Linked DNA regions of Homo sapiens: region 1 is linked to region 2. The links are contacts of gene promoters, found by promoter capture Hi-C in blood cells and fetal thymus (Javierre and others, 2016). All regions are on one chromosome and are shown on one strand. The core of a region is centred on a gene start or on the middle of the fragment in contact, and the rest is flanking DNA. Distances in the headings are between cores, read along the strand shown. Region 1 overlaps CALCOCO2 (calcium binding and coiled-coil domain 2). Region 2 holds the start of PRAC1 (PRAC1 small nuclear protein).

Region 1 (4,603 bases), core at 1,284-3,783, 140 kb after region 2:
ATTACAGGTGTGTGCCGCAATGCCCAGCTAATTTTTGTGTTTTTAGTAGAGACAGGGTTTCACTATGTTGGCCAGGCTGGTCTCGAACTCCTGGCCTCACGTGATCTGTCCACTTCAGCCGTCCAAAGTGCTGGGATTACAAGCGTGAGCCACTGTGCTGGGCCCGAGGCCCTGACTTCTTGCTGTAACTTTCCATGCATTTTTTTTAAAAGGAGCAGTGTGGATTTTCGCACCCTTTGTGAACTAAGTTCAATGCGCTCTATCCAAATTTGCCTAATTGAACTATAAGAAAGTAATAATTCCATTTTCTATCCCCTCAGGGACTGAACAAATGGAAATAACTCCCAGGCAGTATCAGGTGGTCACTACAGAGACTTCCACAAAAACTTTTGAATGATGTGAAACACGATGTCATGAATAAGGGTTGAGCCAACTATAGCTCTGTGTTCCTACTGGGCTTTCCCTAATGTGGTTGGGAGTTATGCCCTAGACTAACTGTATTGTCCTAGTCACAGCTCCTTGCTTTGATTTCATCCTTGATAAAATGAAGATGAAACTTACACTACTTCTCCAAGCCTTTTGCTGTCTTAAGAATAAGACCTGAGATTAACACTAACCCTAGAATAGAAATGTAATAGGGAGATGGTAATAAAGGAGTTTTTCTGGCACATACCCTCCCTACAGAATTTCTGTTGCTCCCCAGATCCAGTGAAGAATTGCAGTTTCATTTATTTTGTACCAGTCAGCTCTTAATTAAGTACATGAATGGAGAGGAACAGTGGTGCACATAATCCAAATCAGTGAATACCATTTTCTGGTGAATTACCCACCCCTTTGCCCCTGCTACCCCGAGGGTTACCATGATTGTCAACAGCAGCAGGAGCCCTTCCACAGGGCTTGGTAAAAAAACCAGTTGAGGTGTTAATGACCCTTTTTGCTGGGTGTAAAACAAAGCATCTTTAACCACTGTTCATTATCCCCAGCTGCTCTTACCAAGGCTTTGAAGGGGGAAATTATGCTCTAGGCAGCCACTAGTAGTAAACAATAGTTCTTTTTTTTGAGACAGAGTTTCACTCTGTCACCCAGGCTAGAGTGCAGTAGGCGCTCACTGCAAGCTCCGCCTCCCGAGTTCACACCATTGTCCTGCCTCAGCCTCCCGAGTAGCTGGGACTACAGGCGCCCGCCACCGCTCCCGGCTAATTTTTTGTACTTTTAGTAGAGACGGGGTTTCACCGCGTTAGCCAGGATGGTCTCGATCTCCTGACCTCATGATCCACCGGCCTCGGCCTCCCAAAGTGCTGGGATTACAGGCATGAGCCACTGCGCCCAGCCAACAATAGTTCTTATATAACCCACTGCCCACCCTGGCCTTCCTCCATCCCCCTCGCACCCACACATTATATAGCTGTAAAATACCTGCAAAAAATAGGAAGTTATGAGAGCAAATAGTTATCTGAGTTGAATTTTTGAATCTTTGTACTTGTTATGGCAACAGGTTTTCCTTCCTAATTTCTTTTCTCTTGGTCTAATATTAAAATGTTTTTGCATTACCTTAGCATGCTTACTGGATGGGCAGTGAAGGGAGAATAAAGTCACCCTGGCACATGTGAGTGTGAAAGAAAGCTAACTTAAAAAAAGGAGGCCGGGCACGGTGGCTCATGCCTGTAATCCCAGCACTTTGTGAGGCCGAGGCGGGTGGATCACGAGGTCAGGAGTTCAAGACCAGCCTGGCCAACATGGTGAAACCCCATCTCTACTAAAACTACAAAAAATTAGCCAGGTGTGGCAGCAGGCACCTGTAATCCCAGCTACTCGGGAGGCTGAGGCAGAGAATTGCTTGAACCCGGGAGGCGGAGGTTGCAGTGAGCTAAGATCGCACCACTTTACTCCAGCCTGAGCGACAGAGCAAGACTCTGTCTCAAAAAAAAAAAAAAAGAGAGAGAGAGTTGGCAAGATATTTGGTAAACCTAGGCCTTAACACCTATAGCTTCAGCTCTTTTCCCTGGTCTTGCTAAAAATTGGGATGAAATGTGACTGCCTTGATGTTCAAATATCATTCTCCTGTGATTTGATTTTCTACGGTGGCAGTGGCTTACACTGAGGTAAGCATACTCTAACCTGGTCTCCTAGGAACAAATGTGGATGAAATGTGGATGCAGTCCATTACCTGGGAAAAAAGCAAAATGGACTCTACATAGAGACAAGATCCAAAGAGATATTCATCTGATTGCCCTGAGTTAACCAACAATAGGCCATAAGCTCAGTGAAGTTACACTGGCCCCAGTGCTTTCCTTAGCTGCTCTCATATAAATATTCAAAAGTCTTAGTCGGTGCTCACGCCTGTAATCCCAGCACTTTGGGAGGCCAAGGTGGGCAGATCACGAGGTCAGGAGATCGAGACCATCCTGGCTAACATGGTGAAACCCCATCTCTACTAAAAATGCAAAAAATTAGCGGGGCTTGGTGGCAGGCACCTGTAGTCCCAGCTACTCGGGAGGCTGAGGCAGGAGAATGGCGTGAACCCGGGAGGTGGAGCTTGCAGTGAGCCAAGATCGCACCACTGCACTCCAGCCTGGGAGACAAGGTGAGACTCTGTCTCAAAAAAAAAAAAAAAAAAAAAAAAAGTCTTGGCCGAGTGCAGTGGCTCATGCCCATAATCCCAGCACTTTGGGAGGCTGAGGCAGGTGTATCACGAGATCAGGAGTTCGAGACCAGCCTGGCCAACGTGGTGAAACCCCATCTCTACTAAAAATTCAAAAACTAGCCAGGCATGGTGGCGGGCTCCTGTAATCCCAGCTACTCGGGAGGCTGAGGCAGGAGAATCGCTTGAACCCAGGAAGTGGAGGTTACAGTGAGCCGAGATCGCACCACTGCACTCCAGCCTGGGTGAAAGAGCAAGACTCCATCTCAAAAAAAAAAAAAAAAAAAGTTTTTAGGGCCAGTCATGGTGGCTCACATCTGTAATCCCATCACTTTAGGAGGCCGAGGTGGGCAGATCACCTGAGGTCAGGAGTTCAAGACCAGCCTGGCCAACATGTTGAAACCCCATCTCTACTAAAAATATGAAAAATTAGCCAGGAGTGCTGGCTCACGCCTGTAATCCCAACTCTTCGGGAGGCCGAGGCGGGTGGATCATAAGGTCAGGAGTTTCGGTCCAGCCTGGCCAATATGGTGAAACCCCGTCTCTACTAAAAAAAAAAAAATACAAAAATTAGCCAGGCGTGGTGGTGGGTGCCTGTAGTCTGGGCTACTCAGGAGGCTGAGGCAGGAGAATCACTTGAACCCAGGAGGCAGAGGTTGCAGTGAGCCGAGATCGTGCCACTGCAATCCAGCCTGGGCGACAGAGCGAGACTGTCTCAAAAAAAAAAAATAGCTGGGTGTAGTGGGGCATGCTTGTAATCCCAGGTACTTGGGAGGCTGAGGTTGAGGGTGCAGTGAGCTGAGATCGTGCCACAGTACTCCAGCCTGGATGATAAAGTGAGACTCCATCTCAAAAAAAAAGTCTTTAGGCCAGTGTGATGGCTCACACCTATAATACCCCGTGCTGGTATTGTTTGAGGCCAGGAGTTGGAGACCAGCCTGGTCAACATAGCAAGACCTCGTCTCTCCAAAATAAATAAATAATAAATAAATAAGCTAGGTATGGTGGCATGCACCTGTAGCCTCAGCTACAGGGGAGGCTGAGGCAAGAGGATCCCTTGAGCCCAGGAGGTTGAGGCTGCAGTGAGCCATGATTGCACCATTGCACTCCAGCTTGGGCCAGAGAGTTGAGACCCTATCTCTAAAAAAAATTAAAGTAATAAAATATCATTACATTCTTGTACCGCTTTATAGTTTAGAATGTATTTCACATATTCCCTGTGTGCCTCTCATAATCCTCCAAGACAAGGCAGCTATTAACTCATTTTTATGGATGAATAAGCTGAAACATGCAGAAATAACTTGCTAAAGGTGGAAACAATCCAAATGTCTATCAGCTGATGAATGGATAAATAAAATATGGTGTATCCATACAATGGGATATTATTTGTCAATAAACAGGAAGTAGTCATATATGTTGCAATATGGATGAGCCTTGAAATTATGCCAGGTGAAAAAAGCCAGTCAAAAAGACCACATTATTGTATGATTCCATTTATTTGAAATGTCCAGAATAGGCAAATTTGTAGTAACAAAATAGATTGGTTTCCTAGGGCTAGGGGTTGGGGGGAAATGGAGAGTGACTGCCAATAGGTATGGAGTTTCTTTTGGGAGGATAAAGAAAATGTTCTAAACTTCATTGTGGAGATGGTTACACGACCAAATATACTAAAAACCATCAAGTTACATACTGTTTTTTTTGAAACAAAGTCTCACTCTGTTACCCAGACTAGAGTGTGGTGCGATCTGGGCTCACTGCAACCTCCACCTCCCGGGTTCAAGTGATTCTTCTGCCTCAGCCTCCCGAGTAGCTGGGATTATAGGCGTGTGCCACCACAACCAGCTAGTTTTTGTATTATAGTAGAGACGGGTTTCACCATGTTGGCCAGGCTGGTCTTGAACTCCTGACCTCAAGTGATCCCCCCTGCCTCAGCCTCCCAAAGTGCTGGGATTACAGTCCTGA
Region 2 (4,561 bases), core at 2,012-4,511:
CTACTACCGTCTGAGCAGGCCGCTCCTCGCAGCCTCCGCAGTCGGCGGGTCGCCTGGAAAGACGCGCCGGTTTCCCGGGTCGGATGGCTCTCCAGGCCGCTATTTCCTCCGCCACCGAGTAGGGAGACGCCCCATTTGCGAAGTTTAAGTTTCCAGGTCCTGGGAAGGCAGCTGGGAAACCCGCGGGGCTCGGCAGCCGCCCTGGTAGCAGCCAGGGATCGGATAGCGCGGCGGGCGACAGCCCCCCGGATAACCCCGCCGAGGGAGGGGCGCTTGTAAAACCGAGCGGCGACGGCCTCGTTACGACCGACTCGAACATTCTCTAATAAATCATCGGCCTTAGCTAGTATTCGTTTGTGTACGCATCTGTTTATCCTGATTATTAAAATAAATTAAGGATTAGACTGCCTAGAATAAGGTAAACGAACATGAAATGCCAAGGAGGAAAACAGAAAAAGTTACACCATGTCGATCCCGACCAAAACATTGGCCTGACTTGCCGGATGGCCTCAAGAATCCGGCTTTTAGCTGCAGGCCCGGCGGGTGTTCCCCGGAAGGCAAGGATTGGAAGCTCTTTGATAAAGCCGCGCGAGGCCCGGTTTCTCGCGTTTCGGGTCGCTCCACAGCCCCCTCCGCCCTTCCCCTCCACCCCTCCGCGTCTCGGCCTGGCTCCGGAGGGGTGAAGGAATGTTTATAGCCTGACTCAAGTTCAATGACAAAAACCTGCCTGGAATGGGAGGTGCGGCGAGCTTCAGCCATCAACATGACAAAGGCTGGACGCAGGTCTCGGGCGGGGGCGACGGGCTGGGCCCACCTAGAGATGGGGAGCTGAGGGCCCACAGGATGGGTACGGACCCCGCAGACCAAGAGCTGCCTCTCTGCCCTCAGCCTGGGGTCTGCGGAGTTTGGCGAGTAGTGCGGGTGTGTGCCCGCCTGGATGAGGGTAAGGCGATCAGCCTCTGAGTGGGCAAGGGGACGTCTGATTACTGCCCAGGCTTCGCCTGGGGGTCCAGGACCCTGTGAGATGCCCCTGCTCTCTGCCTGGCCAGCTCTAGCTCACCCGGAGTAAGGATCCGCACCGTCCTTCTATCCACCGCGACCTGCATTTTCTGGCCTCCTCCGAGTTTTGTTCACATCTTCCCTCCCGGATTTGATATTCCAAGCATCTTCTCCAGGGAAGACTCCCAGAAGCCTTGCTTGTCTGTGTGTGTGTGTATCTTTCTCTTTCCCTGTTCCCCGTCCTGTTCCCCATTTGTTCTGATTGTAGTCATTTGGTCATGGAATAAAATCCTCTGGCCTCAGGTCACATATGGGGAAGCTGCAGACCCAAGATTTACCAGCATAGGAGTCAGGCCTGGTGGGAAGGGAGAGCATATTTCCAACTCTTTCCTCCTGTCTTCCACCCCTAGTGGAAGATTTTGCATACTCAATTAATGAGTAGTTGGTTGACAAAAATGTCCACACGTGTTTAATCCCCTGTTTGCATATATGCAGATCTGTCCAGTGCCTGAGGAGGGGCTGGGTCTAGGGTGTTTGGGTGCACCTGTGTGATCTCAGCTGGGTGACTCCGGATGGAAGCAGGTGCTTGTTAGTGTCTGAAGGGCCTTGCAGGGAGAGGTATGTTGACAATAGAGGAGTCCCTGGGCTTTCTATTTTTTCAGTTGGTGGTAGAGGTTAAGCGCTCCTGTTTTGGGACCCAGATCAAGTAACTTACCCTCTTAGTTTCAATTTCTTTAGGTTATAAAGTGCTCACTCAATTGTGGGTTTTGTCATTATGGGAGGGGGAACTGGCAGGGAAGGAGCCAGCTGTGGGGAGAAGAGAGTTAGGTGAGTCCTGAGTGTTTTTGTGGATTACTGTGCCCACCCCAAGACCAATGACTTGGCAATATCAGTGGTTGGCTGAAGATGTGAGCATGTGGTCCCCAGCCTGCTTCTGTACTGGACCCAGAGCCCCTGTGCGCACACATGCCTGCTGTGGCATTGATCCCACACTTGGCAAGGCAGAGCTTCTGAGAGGGTGCAGGAAAGGGAATAAGGAAGCCAGGGGCCCAGAGAAAAAGGTGCAATTATTATTATTATTATTATTTGTCACAGAGTCTCACTCTGTCACATAGGCTGGAGTGCAATGGCATAATCTCAGCTCACTGCAACCTCCACCTCCCAGGTTCGAGCAATTCTTGTGCTTCAGCCTCTTGAGTAGCTGGAATTACAGGTGTGAGCCACCATGCCCAGCTAATTGTTGTATTTTTAGTAGAGACAGTTTTCACTATGTTGGCCAGGCTGATCTCAAACTCTTGGCCTCAAGTTATCTGCCCACTTCAGCCTCCCAAAGTGCTGGGATTACAGCCATGAGCCACTATGCCTGGCCCGTTTTTATTTTTTTAAGGCCCAGAGCTTTTGCCTTAAGGATGAGTTAGTTTAAAAAAGAAAAATTGTTATAATCACAGTTAACTTTCACCCAGTTTCCTTTTTTAAAAAAATTTTATTGTATAAATAGAGACAGCGTCTTGCTACATTGCCCAGGCTGGTCTGGAACTCCTGTGCTCAAGGAATCTTCCTGCCTCGGCCTCCCGAAATTCCAGAATTACAGGCTGAGCCATCACTCCTGGTCTCGCCCAGTAGATGTTTCAAAGTAGATGTTTTCTAAAATATTTTACAATATTTACAAATTTTAAATAATAATAACGTTATCAATATTAATTTTGCTTATGCCAGGACTCCATCCCATTGGAGACAAACATTAAGTCTTATGGCAGACCTTACAGCGGGTGCTAGTTCCCACTCCCAAGCCTCTCCCCCGCCTAGGTCCTGCAGGTCCCGCGTGCTGCGAAACATTTTCTTTGTCCCTTTCTGCCCAGGGCGGCTGCCGGTCTCTCCAGGAACCGCGAGTAGGTGCTCCCGCCAGGTGGTATCGGTGAAAGCCTGCTGCTCACCCTTCCCTTGTTTCCCAAAACTTCTGAAGGCTCCCAAATTCCTGGGAGACCCTCTCCCAGGGCCTCCTGATGCAGCTACCATACTGAGCGATCCGTCGATAACGCCCTTGGCCCACCGATCAGTTTACCTTATTAGAGAGAAAAGCACTCTTGGAGGTAGTAAGATGGGCCGGTCCTTGATCTGAGAAATGGGCGCACAACATCGCTGTTCTCTCTGCAAAGGTGGGGACCAGAATCCAGCTTGCCTGACCTTGCAAGCAAGCATCGGCCTAAAGGTTTCAGCCTCCCAGTGGCGCTCTGTTTGCACGCCTTAGGCTAGGAGAGGAAGGACGGGAGCACAGCACTGGGTGCCCCTCTCCCTGTAGAGTCTGGGGCGGGGCTCAGTAAGAAGGCCTGCGGTTGGTGGCTCCCCACCTCATAGCTGCAAGTAGGGGCGAAAGCTGGAGTGTCTCCTCCCAGCAGCCTCCTCGCCTCCCCGCAAACCTCCGAATCTCCCTGGACCTCCTGGTTGCTGTGGCCCTTCCTCCCCTGATTGGCTTCCTCCCTCTTTCCCAAGGCCAGAGAAGTCCTCTCTTCCCCTCACCTTCCTCCCTCTTCCCATAAAACTTTTAGGAAAATGGGGGCGGGGGCGGTGGAGACCACCAGCCTGGAACTTCAAGTTCAATGGCAAAGTCCCTGACCCTCCCCCCAGGCTGGGCGCCAGCATTATTCTAGGGGCGATTAAACTCTTTTGCTGCCCCCTGTGCACCTCCCAGTTCGGGGGCAGTTTAGGGGAGGAGAGAAGGTAATGGTGGAATTCTTTCCCTCACTCTCCCCCGACCACTTCGTCCCCTCCCCCTCATCCCCTCTACACAGAACTAACTGGTAGGGAGAGAGGAAGAAAGGCTGGCATCGGTTCCTCATTGGATGTTTTAAATCTGTCTCAGGCCCAGGCCAGTGCCTGGGGGGAGGGGCGGGGTGTCCTGCTTTTGGGCTAGAGGCCCGGGGCCGCTCCCGAGCTTTCTCCCCTCTTCCCTGGAGAGCGACTGTTCGGGAGGGTGAGAATGGTATAAATTTCAAAAACAACGAAACCTTCTTTTGCCCCCTCCGCAGCAGTCGCCTCCGGGCTTTATTGCAAGTTTACGGTAACGAGTTCATCTATTTAATTCGCGGTTGCAGCTCGGGGATTTCTATTAGACAGGACGGGTTGGGGCCGGGGGGCACAGGGTCTCCCCTGAAGGAAACCCAATTAGAGTGCAGCACTTAGCACCTTCAATATAACTTTAATGAAGGGGGGGAGGGGAGCTGCAGGGAAGAGAAGTTTGCTCTAGGTTGGGGAAGGAAAGCTGGAGCTGCTCCCGAGAACTGGGGGGCCTGGATGAGGCTTTTTCCTGCTTCGAGGGCTTTCCAGCTTCCGGCCCGGGAACTACTATTTGGAGTAGGGATCGCCTGCAGGGAAGGCGGGGCGGATTCTCGGCTGGCGGCGGCCTCGCAGGGTTCCCGGAAGCGCTAGCCAGCCGGAGTAAAACCCGAAAGATGGAGCCTCAGGTTCGCGCTCTGCGTTGCGGGTGCTGGAACCGAGATTCAAAAAGAGCTTCCGGAGGTAGTTTCTACGCATTGCGCCACTACTCCCTTATTCGGCTTCTGGA

The links. The method cuts DNA at HindIII sites, captures the fragments that hold promoters and counts their contacts. A CHiCAGO score of 5 or more calls a contact.
Region 1: a contact is called between a fragment that was not itself captured here and the fragment with the promoter of PRAC1 in region 2, in 2 of 17 cell types (megakaryocytes and M2 macrophages). The highest score is 7.0, in megakaryocytes.

Annotation. Positions count from the first base shown.
Region 1 is chr17:48,864,200-48,868,802 of GRCh38, forward strand. CALCOCO2 (calcium binding and coiled-coil domain 2) reads left to right here. Exons shown (of 13, transcript NM_005831.5): 13 at 1-1,046. Among named protein-coding and RNA genes, the nearest start is that of ATP5MC1, 26 kb to the right of the region's middle. The HindIII fragment of the contact is 6,231 bases long and covers 1-4,603 here.
Region 2 is chr17:48,719,257-48,723,817 of GRCh38, forward strand. It overlaps PRAC1 (PRAC1 small nuclear protein), which reads right to left and starts at 3,262. Exons shown (of 2, transcript NM_032391.3): 1 at 3,062-3,262; 2 at 2,463-2,643. The coding sequence starts at 3,136. The coding sequence ends at 2,545. PRAC2 (PRAC2 small nuclear protein) reads left to right here and starts at 3,929. Exons shown (of 2, transcript NM_001282275.2): 1 at 3,929-4,057. RefSeq lists enhancers at 3,208-3,722, 3,723-4,238. The HindIII fragment of the contact is 8,116 bases long and covers 1-4,561 here.